Linked DNA regions of Homo sapiens: regions 1 and 3 are each linked to region 2. The links are contacts of gene promoters, found by promoter capture Hi-C in human tissues and cell types (Jung and others, 2019). All regions are on one chromosome and are shown on one strand. The core of a region is centred on a gene start or on the middle of the fragment in contact, and the rest is flanking DNA. Distances in the headings are between cores, read along the strand shown. Region 1 overlaps KLHL26 (kelch like family member 26). Region 2 holds the start of NR2C2AP (nuclear receptor 2C2 associated protein). Region 3 has its middle 7.7 kb from the start of CRTC1.

Region 1 (3,648 bases), core at 300-2,799, 560 kb after region 2:
GGGGAAGAGCCAGGAGTGGCTCTGAGCTGGGATGGGGAGGAGAGAGCAGGAGGAGCTGGCTCCAGGCTGTGGCTCGAAGGTGGAACCCACAAGAGATGCTACCTGAGGACCTCCTGGGCAGCTGCAGCCAGACTGAGGCCTTCTCTCAGGAGGAGGGACATTCCCAGGACTGGGACCTGCTGGTGGGAAGACCTGAAGCCCTCAAGGACTGTGGGAGCTCCAAGTGGCACGAACCCTGAGCAAGGAGAGGCATGAAGGGCTTTTCTGGAACACAGGAAGGGCTGCGAATCCCCTAGGCCAGGTGGCGCCTCCAAGTCTGCTGCTTGTTGCAGGCAGTGCAGCCGCGCGGGACCAAGGACAACCCTGACCTTCAGCCTGCCCGGTGGGGAGGGCAGAAACTGGCCACCACTATCAGTCAGCACAAGCTCAACCTCCAGGCATCCCCAAGCCTGCGTGTGCCTCTCCATCCCTCCAGGGCCCACCTTGGCCGAGGGTCCCTTGTCTCTTGCCAGAGGGATCCTTTCTTTTTTGAGACAGAGTCTCACTTTGTCGCCCAGGCTGGAGTGCAGTGGTGCAATCTCGGCTCCTGGGTTCAATCGACTCTCGTGCCTCAGCCTCCAGAGCAGCTGGGACTACAAGCACCCGCCACTGCGCCCAGCTAGTTTTGTGTATTTTTAGTAGAGACTGGATCTCACTATGTTGCCCAGGCTGGTCTCGAACTCCTGACCTCAAGTGATCTACCCGCCTTGGCCTCCCAATGTGCTGGGAATACAGGTGTGAGCCACCACACCCGGCCTACAGAGGGATCCTTTCAAAACAGGAGGCTGACTGATATGCCGCTCACCCAAACCCTGCCCTGGCCCCCTGGCCCAGCCAGCCCGGAAATGACCGCACGACGTTCTCTAACTCCTGCTGGCATGTATGCGCCCCATGGGCAGGGTCCATCTGTCCCATGGACCCTTCATGTCCAGCACCAGGCATGGGGTGGACACAGGAGACTGTGGCACCTGCACAAAGGCAGAGAAATGTGTCTAACAAATCCTGTCCACAGAGCAAAGAGCTGGGGATGCCGGGACACATGCTGCCCAGTCACCCCTTGCCTTCAGTAGATCCCACCCCCTTCTTCCAGGATCCAAGGCCCCAAGTCGCTGAATTATTTCTATCTGTGTCCTTCCCCCTCATCCTCCTCTCTCCCTCCCCATTCTCCTGTTCTTTTTCTCCTCCTCTCTCTTTCCTCCTCCTCCTCTCTTCCTCCTCCTCTTCCTCCTCTTTTTCTCCTCCTCCTCTTCCTCCTCCTCCCTCTCATCTCCTCCTCCTCTTCCTCCACTCTTCCTCCTCCTCCTCTCTTCCTCCTCCAGGGCCTCTTAACACCAAATCTAAAACATTCCCTAAAACCAAAGGGTAAGACACACACACACACACAAATATCAGAAAAAGGAAAAAACCAAAGGGCTGGAGTGAGGAGAAAGCCTCCCTTTTACAGTGTCTGAGGAGAGGTGGGTGAGATAAAAAGTAATCGCCGTGGGGGAGGTGGGATGACATTCGCAGGGGCTCCCTGGAGATGGTGCGATTATGGCGGAGGGTAATAAAGCCTTTCTTCCCCGGTAACTACGGACAACGACAAGGAGGCCGTCCCGGGGGTCACAGCTACCAGGTGGAAACAGTCCAGCTGTGACGATCGCACTGCACGATTCAGGTTGAAGTGAGTGCTTTCAGAGCAATTCCACTCCCAGAGCTCTTGGGACCTGCCGACAAGGAGGGGAGGAGAGGGTGGCCTCCTTCCCAGAGAAGGGGCTCAGCTGTGAGGGGCAGATCGAGTGGCCTGGATGTGGCTCGGCCTGTGGGCCAGTGCCCTTCTTGGGCTGGCCCAGTTCCACCTGCCCCCATCCCTGCTGAGACGCGCCACCCCCCGCCGCCCCTGCCCCCGCCCTGCCGAGCTCCTGCTCCCAGGCCTACTCCTGGCGGAACCTGCCCTCTCCAGCTCACGCTGGACGTGCTCTACTCTCTCGCTGCCCCTGCTGCTGTCCCTCTTACGGCCCAAGTCATGGCACTACTGTCTTCCCAATGGCTCAAGTTCACCCTCTCCTTTCCCTGCCTGACACACGCACGCCACATCAAGGCTTGCTGGCATTGACGATCCCCTCAAGGCCCATGCGGGCATGGCGGGCAGAAGGATGGCAGTGTCCCCATCATGGGCGTCAGCACTGCCACAGTAACACTGATGAGGTACATGTGACCTCTCCCCACTCGTTTCCTCCCAGACACCCCCCACCTGGTGGGCCTGGAGCCCCATTTCCCAGATGAGGAATCTGTCACAGCCACAACCCATAAAGAGGGAGCCACAGTCACCCATGGGTATGATGAGACACCTCATGCCGCCATATCTGACCACATTTTCCAGGAGAAGGACTTGAGTCCACGTCTTGGAAGGGTCAAAATCCTCCTTCTGAAAGGGGCATGAGGCCGGGCGCACTGGCTCATGCCTGTAATCCCAGCACTTTGGGAGGCCAAGGCAGGTGGATCACCTGAGGTCAGGAGTTCGAGACCAGCCTGGCCAACATGATGAAACCCCATCTCTCCTAAAAATACAAAAACTAGCCAGGCATGGTAGTGGGCGCCTGTAGTCCCAGCTACTTGGGAGGCTGAGGCAGGAGAATCACTTGAACCCAGAAGGCGGAGGTTGCAGTGAGCCAAAATCATGCCACTGCACTCCAGCCTGAGCTCAGAGTGACGTCAAAAAAAATTAATAATAATAAAAAAGAAAGGGGCAAGAGGCCAAAGGAATGAGAACTTCCCCAAAGTAGCAAGAACCTCCTTGGGAAGCCACCTCTTCCCCTAAGTCTTCCTAGCAGGAGCTGGGGGGCTGGACCCTTCCAAGGCCTCTGGGCTTGGTGGAGATGATCTAGATTGTGGAGAAAGCTTCAACAGGCAAAGGCCACCCAGCCAGACTGACTGTGACAAACCCACCGGGCGCAGCGTCTCGGCCACAACTTTCCATGCAAACACTTTCAGCAGGCAGCAAAGCCCCTGGGCACAACGTCCCAGCCATCACTTCTTTTTTTTTTTTTTTTGATACAGAGTCTCACTCTGTCGCTCAGGCTGGAGTGCAGTGGCAGGATCTCGGCTCATTGCAACCTCCTCCTCCCAGGTTCAAGCGATTCTCCTGCCTCAACCTCCAGAGTTGCTGGGATTAAAGACGCCCACCACCACACCTGACTAATTTTTGTATTTTTAGTAGAGAGGGGGTTTCACTATGTTGGCCAGGCTGGTCTCAAACTCTGGACCTTGTAATCTGCCTGCCTTGGGCTCCCAAAGTGCTGGGATTACAGGAGTGAGCCAAAGCACCCAGCCTAGCCACCACTTCTTATGCAAATGCCTGAAGCTGGCACATCCCTCACCCAGATCCCCCCACCTCACCCCCAGGAACAGCATGACTCAGTGAGCCTGGGCCCTACCCAGGCGTCTCCAGGGAGCGTGGGCCAAAAAGCGTGGATGCCAAAGGCCCATGTCGGAGAGGCTGCAAGGCCAGAAGGTTCCTCCAAAACTCTGCCGGTCAGGTACCTCACAGTGACAGAATTTTAGCTGGGGAGGTGCGACTCCCCAGAGGGTTTGCCTCCCCTTGCGACACCCCAAGTGGCCCAAGCCTCC
Region 2 (3,621 bases), core at 760-3,259:
CATTCATGCAGAACGGATGGTGTCCTGCCCTTTCTCCAACACCTTCCATGACTGCTCCGGGCCCAGCAGGATGTGGCTCCACATATTTTATTCAAATTCATGGTCTTTCACCCAACTAGGCCTTGGCTTATGCTAAGCTCCCTGCCTGGGACACCCTCCCCACTCCAGATTTTCTCACCCTTGTGAATTCCTGGCGCCTGACCCCCTATTAAGGTGCAGTTCTAACATCCCCTTTCCCAGGAAGCCCTTCCTCCAGGTAGAGCCCCTGCTCCTCCGGCCCCATCTCTCCCTTGGGGCTAGGAGTGTCTATGTCTACCTCTGTCTTGCCCAGATCAGGGGCTCCTCTGGGACAGGCCTGGAGCTGAGGCCTCTTGCTGTCCCCAGCATCATCCAGCAGAAGGCTGGACATGACAGTGTGACAGTAGAGCTTGCAGGAGGTGTCTAGTGAATCAGTGAACCAAATCTTCAGCTTGGTATCTGAGGCTTTGTTTGGCAAACTCCTGTTCATGCTTCAAAACCCACCTCACAGCCTGGGTGCGGTGGCTCACACCTGTAATCCCAGCACTTTGGGAGGCCAAGGCGGGCAGATCACGAGGTTAGGAGTTCGAGACCAGCCTGGCCAAGATAGCGAAACCCCATCTCTACTAAAAATACAAAAATTAGCCAGGCATAGTGGTGCGCACCTGTAGTCACAGCTACTCAGGAGGCTGAGGCAGGGGAATCACTTGAACCTGGGAGGCGGAGGTTGCAGTGAGCTGAGATCACACCACTGCACTCCAGCCTGGGCAACAAAGTGAGGCTCCGTCTCGAAACAAAACAAAACAGAAACAACAAAAAACACCCGACCTCGCATGCTCCCTCCTCCAAGAAGCCTTCCTTGACGTCCCAGCAGCATTTTCTGGGAAAGACAAACTTGGAGGCCAGGGCTCCTCTGTCCCAACAAGAACAAAAAGGGTTGATGAGGACTTCAGATACTCCCAACATCGTGGCCTTTTCCACAACTCTGCCTTTGGCCTCCGGGAGGCAGTGAAGTTCGGGGATTCCCAGGCTGCATTTAGTGGTTAGGGTAGAGTAGGTTAGAGTAGGTTAGGGTAGCCGTTAGGGTAGAGTAGGTTAGAGTAGGAAGAAAGACATTGTCATAGGAAGTCTCTCTGGCCGGGCGCGGTGGCTTACGCCTGTAATCCCAGCACTTTGGGAGGCTGAGGTGGGCGGATCACTTGAGCCCAGGAGTTCGAGACCAATCTGGGCAACATGGCGAAACCTCATCTCTACCAAAAAACAAACAAACAAACAAACAAACAAAATAGCCTGCCGTGGTGGCGCGCGCCTACTAGTTCCAACTATTCGGGAAGCTGGGTAGGAGGATTGCTGGAGCCTGGGAGGCAGAGGTCGCAGAGAGCCGCGATCCCACCATTGTACTCCAGCCTGGGTGACAGTGAGACCCCACTTCAAAAAAAAAAAAAAAAAAAGGCCGGGCGCGGTGGCTCAAGCCTGTAATCCCAGCACTTTGGAAGCCCCGGCGGCTGGATCACGAGGTCAGGAGATCAAGACCATTCTGGCTAACACGGTGAAACCCCGTCTCTACTAAATATACGAAAAATTAGCCGGGCGTGGTGGCGGGCGCCTGTATTCCCAGCTACTTGGGAGGCTGAGGCAGGAGAACGGCGTGAACCCAGGGGGCGGAGCTTGCAGTGAGCGGAGATCGTGCCACTGCACTCCAGCCTGGGCGACAGTGAGACTCCGCCTCAAAAAAAAAAAAAAAAAAAGGAAGTCTTTCGGATTCCAAAATCAGTCAAAATCAGTGCTCTACACCTTCGGGCGCCGAGGGACAGCGCCCCGTGCGCGCAGCCAGCCTTTTCCCTACAGCTTCAAGGGAACCAAGGTAAATTCAATCATCGAACCCGGGCCCTTTAAGAAGCGAGCATGAAGGGGCGGGGTCGAACCAAACCCCACCTCTGGAGCGTCCGCGGTCGGCGCCTGAATTACAACACGCATGCGCCAAGCCCACGCGGTTCCGGGTCCCAAGATTTGGCTCCAAGAGCTATTCGCAGAGAAACAGCCTCGCACAAAAAGCCACCGCCCCCGAAACCCGCGGGAAATCTGTTTCCTGTGAAAGGCCTGGCCTCCGGGCATTGGCGGTTTCCCTGATCCTCTCTCCCAAATTTTCCGGCAGGGGATTGATCGAGGCGACATTTAGGACTGGGGTGGGCGAGGGAGTGGCGGTTCTCGTCCCAAGTTACAGGTGAGGACGTTCAGGCCAAGGCGTAGCCAAGATCGCGCCGCCCTGTAGCTTGAGGAGGCGCCGGGATTCGAACCAAGGCTGTGCCCAATCCTAAGCCCTGCGAGGTCTTGTGGAACCGACATGACCCACTCTTTGGTTTGTCCAGAGACAGTGAGCAGGTAAGAGTCTGTGGGGACAGGCAGTGGCGAGGCCCTAAGCCTGGGGTCGAGCCCTCAGTGGACAGATCTGGGGGTCAGGCCCTCCGCGGAGCTGAGAGCTGGTCTCAGCCCCTCTCTTCGCCTTGATCCTGGTGCCTCCAGGGTGAGTTCAGTGCTGAATCGCAACACTCGGCAGTTTGGAAAAAAACATCTTTTCGACCAGGATGAGGAGACATGTTGGAACTCAGACCAGGTGAGGCGCCTCCCTCGACCCTCCATCTCTAGGGTGATTCAGATTCAGATCTCATGCCTTGAGAACGTCAGGGGGCCCTCATGGGTGGCCAGGAAAGGAACATGTGCCGAATTTCCTTCTTCCCCTCCATTCCAAGAACTATGTGAATGAGACAGGCATAGCAGGGCTCTGTGCCTGCAGTGAGCTTGCGCCTCAGTTTCCCTGTCTGCTTCCAGGGCCCCTCCCAGTGGGTGACGCTGGAGTTTCCCCAGCTCATCCGTGTCTCCCAGCTGCAGATCCAGTTTCAGGGTGGCTTCTCCAGTCGCCGGGGCTGCCTGGAAGGTACTAGAAGGCCCTGGGTGGCAGGGGTTCCAGGGGTCACCCCAGACACTCATTGCCTTTCTCTGCTGAAGGTTCACAGGGCACTCAGGCTCTCCACAAGATTGTAGATTTCTACCCTGAGGACAACAACTCGCTTCAGATATCCTGCCCCTGCTTCTGGGGTGGGTGGTCTGTGCCTCTGGAAGCTTTGGACTCACCCAAACCCGAATGGGAACCCTGATGTGTGATCTTGAACACGTGACCTCTAGGACTCCACTTTTTCTGTAAAATGGTGCTGATGACCACCTGTTCTGTGTGAGAGGCTTAGAGGGACCTGCAGCTTCCCCAGGTTGCCCACATCGGTGGAGTGTGAGCTGGGTCTGGAAGGGGTGGGGGCCTGCGGGTGGGAAACCAGAAATCACCAGTTTCCCTTGACTGCCCACGCTCACACTTTCCCCATACCAGCTGCTGAAGTGGACCGGCTGAAGGTGACGTTTGAGGATGCCACTGACTTTTTTGGCCGTGTGGTCATCTACCACCTGCGGGTGCTTGGGGAGAAGGTGTGAGACCTCTAGGGGCTGTCTCCTCCAGGAAGCCCTCCGGGAAGCACAGCAAAGTCCCTCATTCTGCACAGAAGGTTTATTGGTTCCTCTTGGGAAGGGTCCCCTCCCACCACCTGTCCAGAAGCT
Region 3 (3,618 bases), core at 427-2,926, 530 kb after region 2:
CGTCTCTTAAAAAAAAAAAAAAATGAAAATTAGCTAGGCATGATGGTGGGTGCCTGTAATCCCAGCTACTCGGGAGGCTGAGGCAGGAGAATCGCTTGAACCCGGGAGGTGGAGGTTGCAGTGAGCCGAGATCGCACCATTGCACTCCAGCCTGGGAGACAGAGTGAGACTCCATCTCAAATAAAAAAAAAATACCCTCCTCCTGGCGGCTCCACATGCTTATGCTCGGCTCGGCTCTCGCTCCAGCCACACGGGCCTCTTCGCTGTTCCCTCTGCCTGGATTGCGCTCCTCCAAGATGCTTTCGTGGCTGGCTCCTTCTCGACTTGCAGGCCTCTGCTCTGAGAGACCCTCCTGAAGGGTCTAGCTGAAGTGGACCTCCAGCGTCTCTTCCCATGACCCAGAAACATCCCATTCTCTGAAGGCAGCTGTTTGTGCGGTCTCATCTGATCCCTTGTAGATTGAGCTGAGATTATGTTCGCCTTTCCCAAAGAGGCCAGGGCCAGGCCAGAGTTCCCTGTGTGCCTGTGGAATGTGGAAAGGGCACAGACACACGTGATTTCTTATGTGTTTTTGTTCATTCGTTTGTGCGTTTTTAAGACAGAGTCTTGCTCTGTCACCCAGGCTGGAGTGCAGTGGCGCGAACTCGGCTCACTGCAACCTCCACCTCCACACCTGTAATGTCAGCACTTTGGGGGACTGAGGTGGGCGGATCACCTGAGGTCAGGAGTTTGAGACCAGCCTGGCCAACATGGTGAAACACCGTCTCTACTAAAAATGCAAAAAAAACATTAACTAGGCGTGGTGGTGCACGCCTGTAAACCCAGCTACCTGGGAGGCTGAGGAAGGAGAATTGCTTGACCCGGGAGATCAAGAAACTCTTGAGCATTTCTGTGTGGTCCAACACTTATCAGTTGTCAAGCTGTGTGACAATGGAAAACTGTCTTCACCTCTCTGAGCCGCACTGCCCTCCTCTGCTAAATGTGGACAGTGGTGCTCCTCATAGCAGGCTCTTGGAAAGATGAAACAGATAACACATGGAAAGCACTTAGCTCAGTGCCTGCTTCATCCAAGCACTCAGCAACTGTTAGGAAAGCAAAACGCTACTTCGCCATGTTAGTTTTCATGCTTTGCTTCTCAGCTCTTCCTTATATGGGATCTTAGTCGATTTGGGGTACCCACGTCGTGTGGAGGTGAATTAGGGCCATTGGAGCTGAGAGGCAAAGAGGAAAACAATCCCTGGTCTGTCTTTGACTTCCAAAAGAGGCTCTCATCGTACAGAGTTTTTAAAGGGCAAAGCAAAAGCTGGGTCTGATCATGAAGAGAGAGGGAAAGGACCCAAGAGAAGCCAGCGATGCCCCTCCTTACGATAAGGTTACAGGAGGACCCAGGCCCCTCGTCCTCCCACCCAGGCTTTAGTGGTGGATGGAGGGTGGGACGGGGTGGGCCGCCAAGGAGGGTAGTGAGAGGCTGGAACTGGGCAGGCGGGGGACCCATGGTTCAAGTCTAGGGACCCAGCCACTTGTGCTGAGGGATAGATAGCTGAAGTGCGTGTTGGAAAACTGGTTGGTTGGCTGGATGCATTGGCTTGTGCCTATATTCTCAGCACTTTGGGAGGCAGAGGCAGGAGGACTGCTTGAGCTCAGGAGTTTGAAACCAGCCTGGGCAACATAGAGAGACTTGGGCATGCTCCCAGGGACACCTACAGTGTCCATGCCCTGAAACTTGGCCAAGGCCCCATTGACCTCCCTACATCCAGACCCCCATCCTGCTTTCCAAGATCCTGGGGCACTCACAGCCCCCACTCACCTGAAACAAACAAACAAAAAAGAGGGATATCTCGACCTCCAGGGGGCAGTGGCTGCTAAGGAGATGCAGAACGGGCCTTTCTTTTTGGTTGCCAGCATCAGGGTCCCCATCCAAGTTTGGGGAGTCCCCCCACAGAGGGAAGTTGGTCACCCTGCTAACAAGAGAGGCCCCCAAGCCAAGGGTGACCCATCGAACTATTGGCCGCGGTTCCCACCTATTCCTGCATCCCTGCCCTCTACAGTTCTTCCTTCCAGGTGGAAGACACTTCCCCATTCCAGATGTGGGGCTCAGCCATGTCATTTGCTTGGCCAAAGACTTATGGGCAGGTCAGGCATAGTGGCTCATGCCTGTAATCCCAGCACTTTGGGAGGCCAGGGCAGGTGGTTGACTTGAGGCCAGGAGTTCGAGACCAGCCTGGCCAACAAAGCGAAACCCCGTCTCTATTAAAAATACAAAACTTAGCCAGGTGTGGTGGCACATACCTGTAATCCCAGCTACTCGAGAGGCTGAGGCAAGAGAATCGCTTGATCTTGGGAGGTGGAGGTTGCTGTGAGCCGAGATTGCACCACTGCACTCCAGCCTGGGTGACAGAGCGAGATTCAGTCTCAAATAAATAAATAAATGAATAAGCTGCTCTTGGTGGCATGAGCGTATAGTTCTAGCTAGTCAGGAGGCTAAGGTGGGAGTATCACTTGAGCCCAGGAGGTCGAGGCTGCAGTGAACCATGATTGTGCCACTGCACTCCAGCCTGGGCAACAGAGCAAGACTCCATCTCAAAATAAAAAAAAAAAAGACTTACGGGCAGATGTGATAGTGTTTGAGTCCCGAACTGAGACCCTACGAGGCCTCACGTGATTCCACTTGTCCTCAGACACTTGCAGGAGGAAAATGTGCCCTGGCTAGCTGCTGTTCCAGCAGGAGGCAAGAACCCGTGGAGCAGGGACTCTGGGCTACTCTGCATCCTTGCACCTGTAAGCAGAGCTGCCCAGCCGAGGCCCGCCTAGAGCAGACACCACCTCTGCTGACTCACAGACATGTGAAAAACAAACGCTTATTGTTGCATGCCATTGAGACTTGGGGGTGTTTGTTGCACAGCAGTGGCTGACTAATACACACGAATGTACTCACTTTCACCACTCCTGGGACAGCTGGGGAATGGCGTGGGATACTGGTTGGGCCTCCGGGATGTTTCCATGCAGGCACAAGTGCTACAGAGAAACAGCATCGGGGCAGGGCCATCTGTTTTCTAGGGGCAGCTGTGGCTGAGTGCCCAGGGCAGATGGCAGTGCCAACGGAGGCGTCTGGATTCTGCAGTGGTGGCAGGATCGTCCTCTGGCATAATTTCAGCTGAAGGCCTAGTTGCCTCACGCCTTTGATTCCCTTGTTTACTTTTTTCTTTTTTCTTTTTTTTTTTTTTTTGGAGACAGGGTCTCACTGTGTTACCCAGGCTGGAGTGCAGTGGCACAATCACAGCTCACTGCAGCCTTGATCTTCAGGGCTCAACCTATCCTCACCTCACCCTCCTGTGTAGCTGGGACTACAGGTGCATGCCACTATGCCAGGCTAATTCTTCTATTTTTTGTAGAGACAGGGTTTTGCTGTGTTGCTGGTCTCCAACTCCTGAGCTCAAGAGATCTGCCTGCCTCAGCCTCCCAAAGTGCTGGGAATACAGTCTCTAAACCAAAAAAAAATAAAGAAAGAAAGAAAGAGAGAGGCATAGTCATGCCCCCTCCCAGAAATCATGGGCCACCAGTCATAACATCCTGGCACCTCTGACCTCCAGTCTCCTTGTTATGAGAAATAATGTCTGC

Evidence for each region. Contacts are between HindIII fragments. The study calls those that stand out against the background at their distance.
Region 1: a contact is called between a fragment that was not itself captured here and the fragment with the promoter of NR2C2AP in region 2, in 1 of the 25 tissues and cell types used here (dorsolateral prefrontal cortex).
Region 3: a contact is called between a fragment that was not itself captured here and the fragment with the promoter of NR2C2AP in region 2, in 1 of the 25 tissues and cell types used here (dorsolateral prefrontal cortex).

The regions. Positions count from the first base shown.
Region 1 is chr19:18,645,235-18,648,882 of GRCh38, reverse strand. All of the region lies in intron 1 of KLHL26 (kelch like family member 26), which reads right to left. Among named protein-coding and RNA genes, the nearest start is that of KLHL26, 10 kb to the right of the region's middle. RefSeq lists an enhancer at 1-789. The HindIII fragment of the contact is 9,166 bases long and covers 1-3,648 here.
Region 2 is chr19:19,201,802-19,205,422 of GRCh38, reverse strand. NR2C2AP (nuclear receptor 2C2 associated protein) reads left to right here and starts at 2,009. Exons shown (of 5, transcript NM_176880.6): 1 at 2,009-2,400; 2 at 2,542-2,632; 3 at 2,848-2,953; 4 at 3,025-3,092; 5 at 3,382-3,621. The coding sequence starts at 2,363. The coding sequence ends at 3,498. RFXANK (regulatory factor X associated ankyrin containing protein) reads right to left here. Exons shown (of 10, transcript NM_003721.4): 10 at 3,557-3,621. RefSeq lists an enhancer at 1,809-2,103 and a silencer at 2,767-3,033. The HindIII fragment of the contact is 14,823 bases long and covers 1-3,621 here.
Region 3 is chr19:18,674,193-18,677,810 of GRCh38, reverse strand. No RefSeq gene overlaps it. Among named protein-coding and RNA genes, the nearest start is that of CRTC1, 7.7 kb to the left of the region's middle. The HindIII fragment of the contact is 8,005 bases long and covers 1-3,618 here.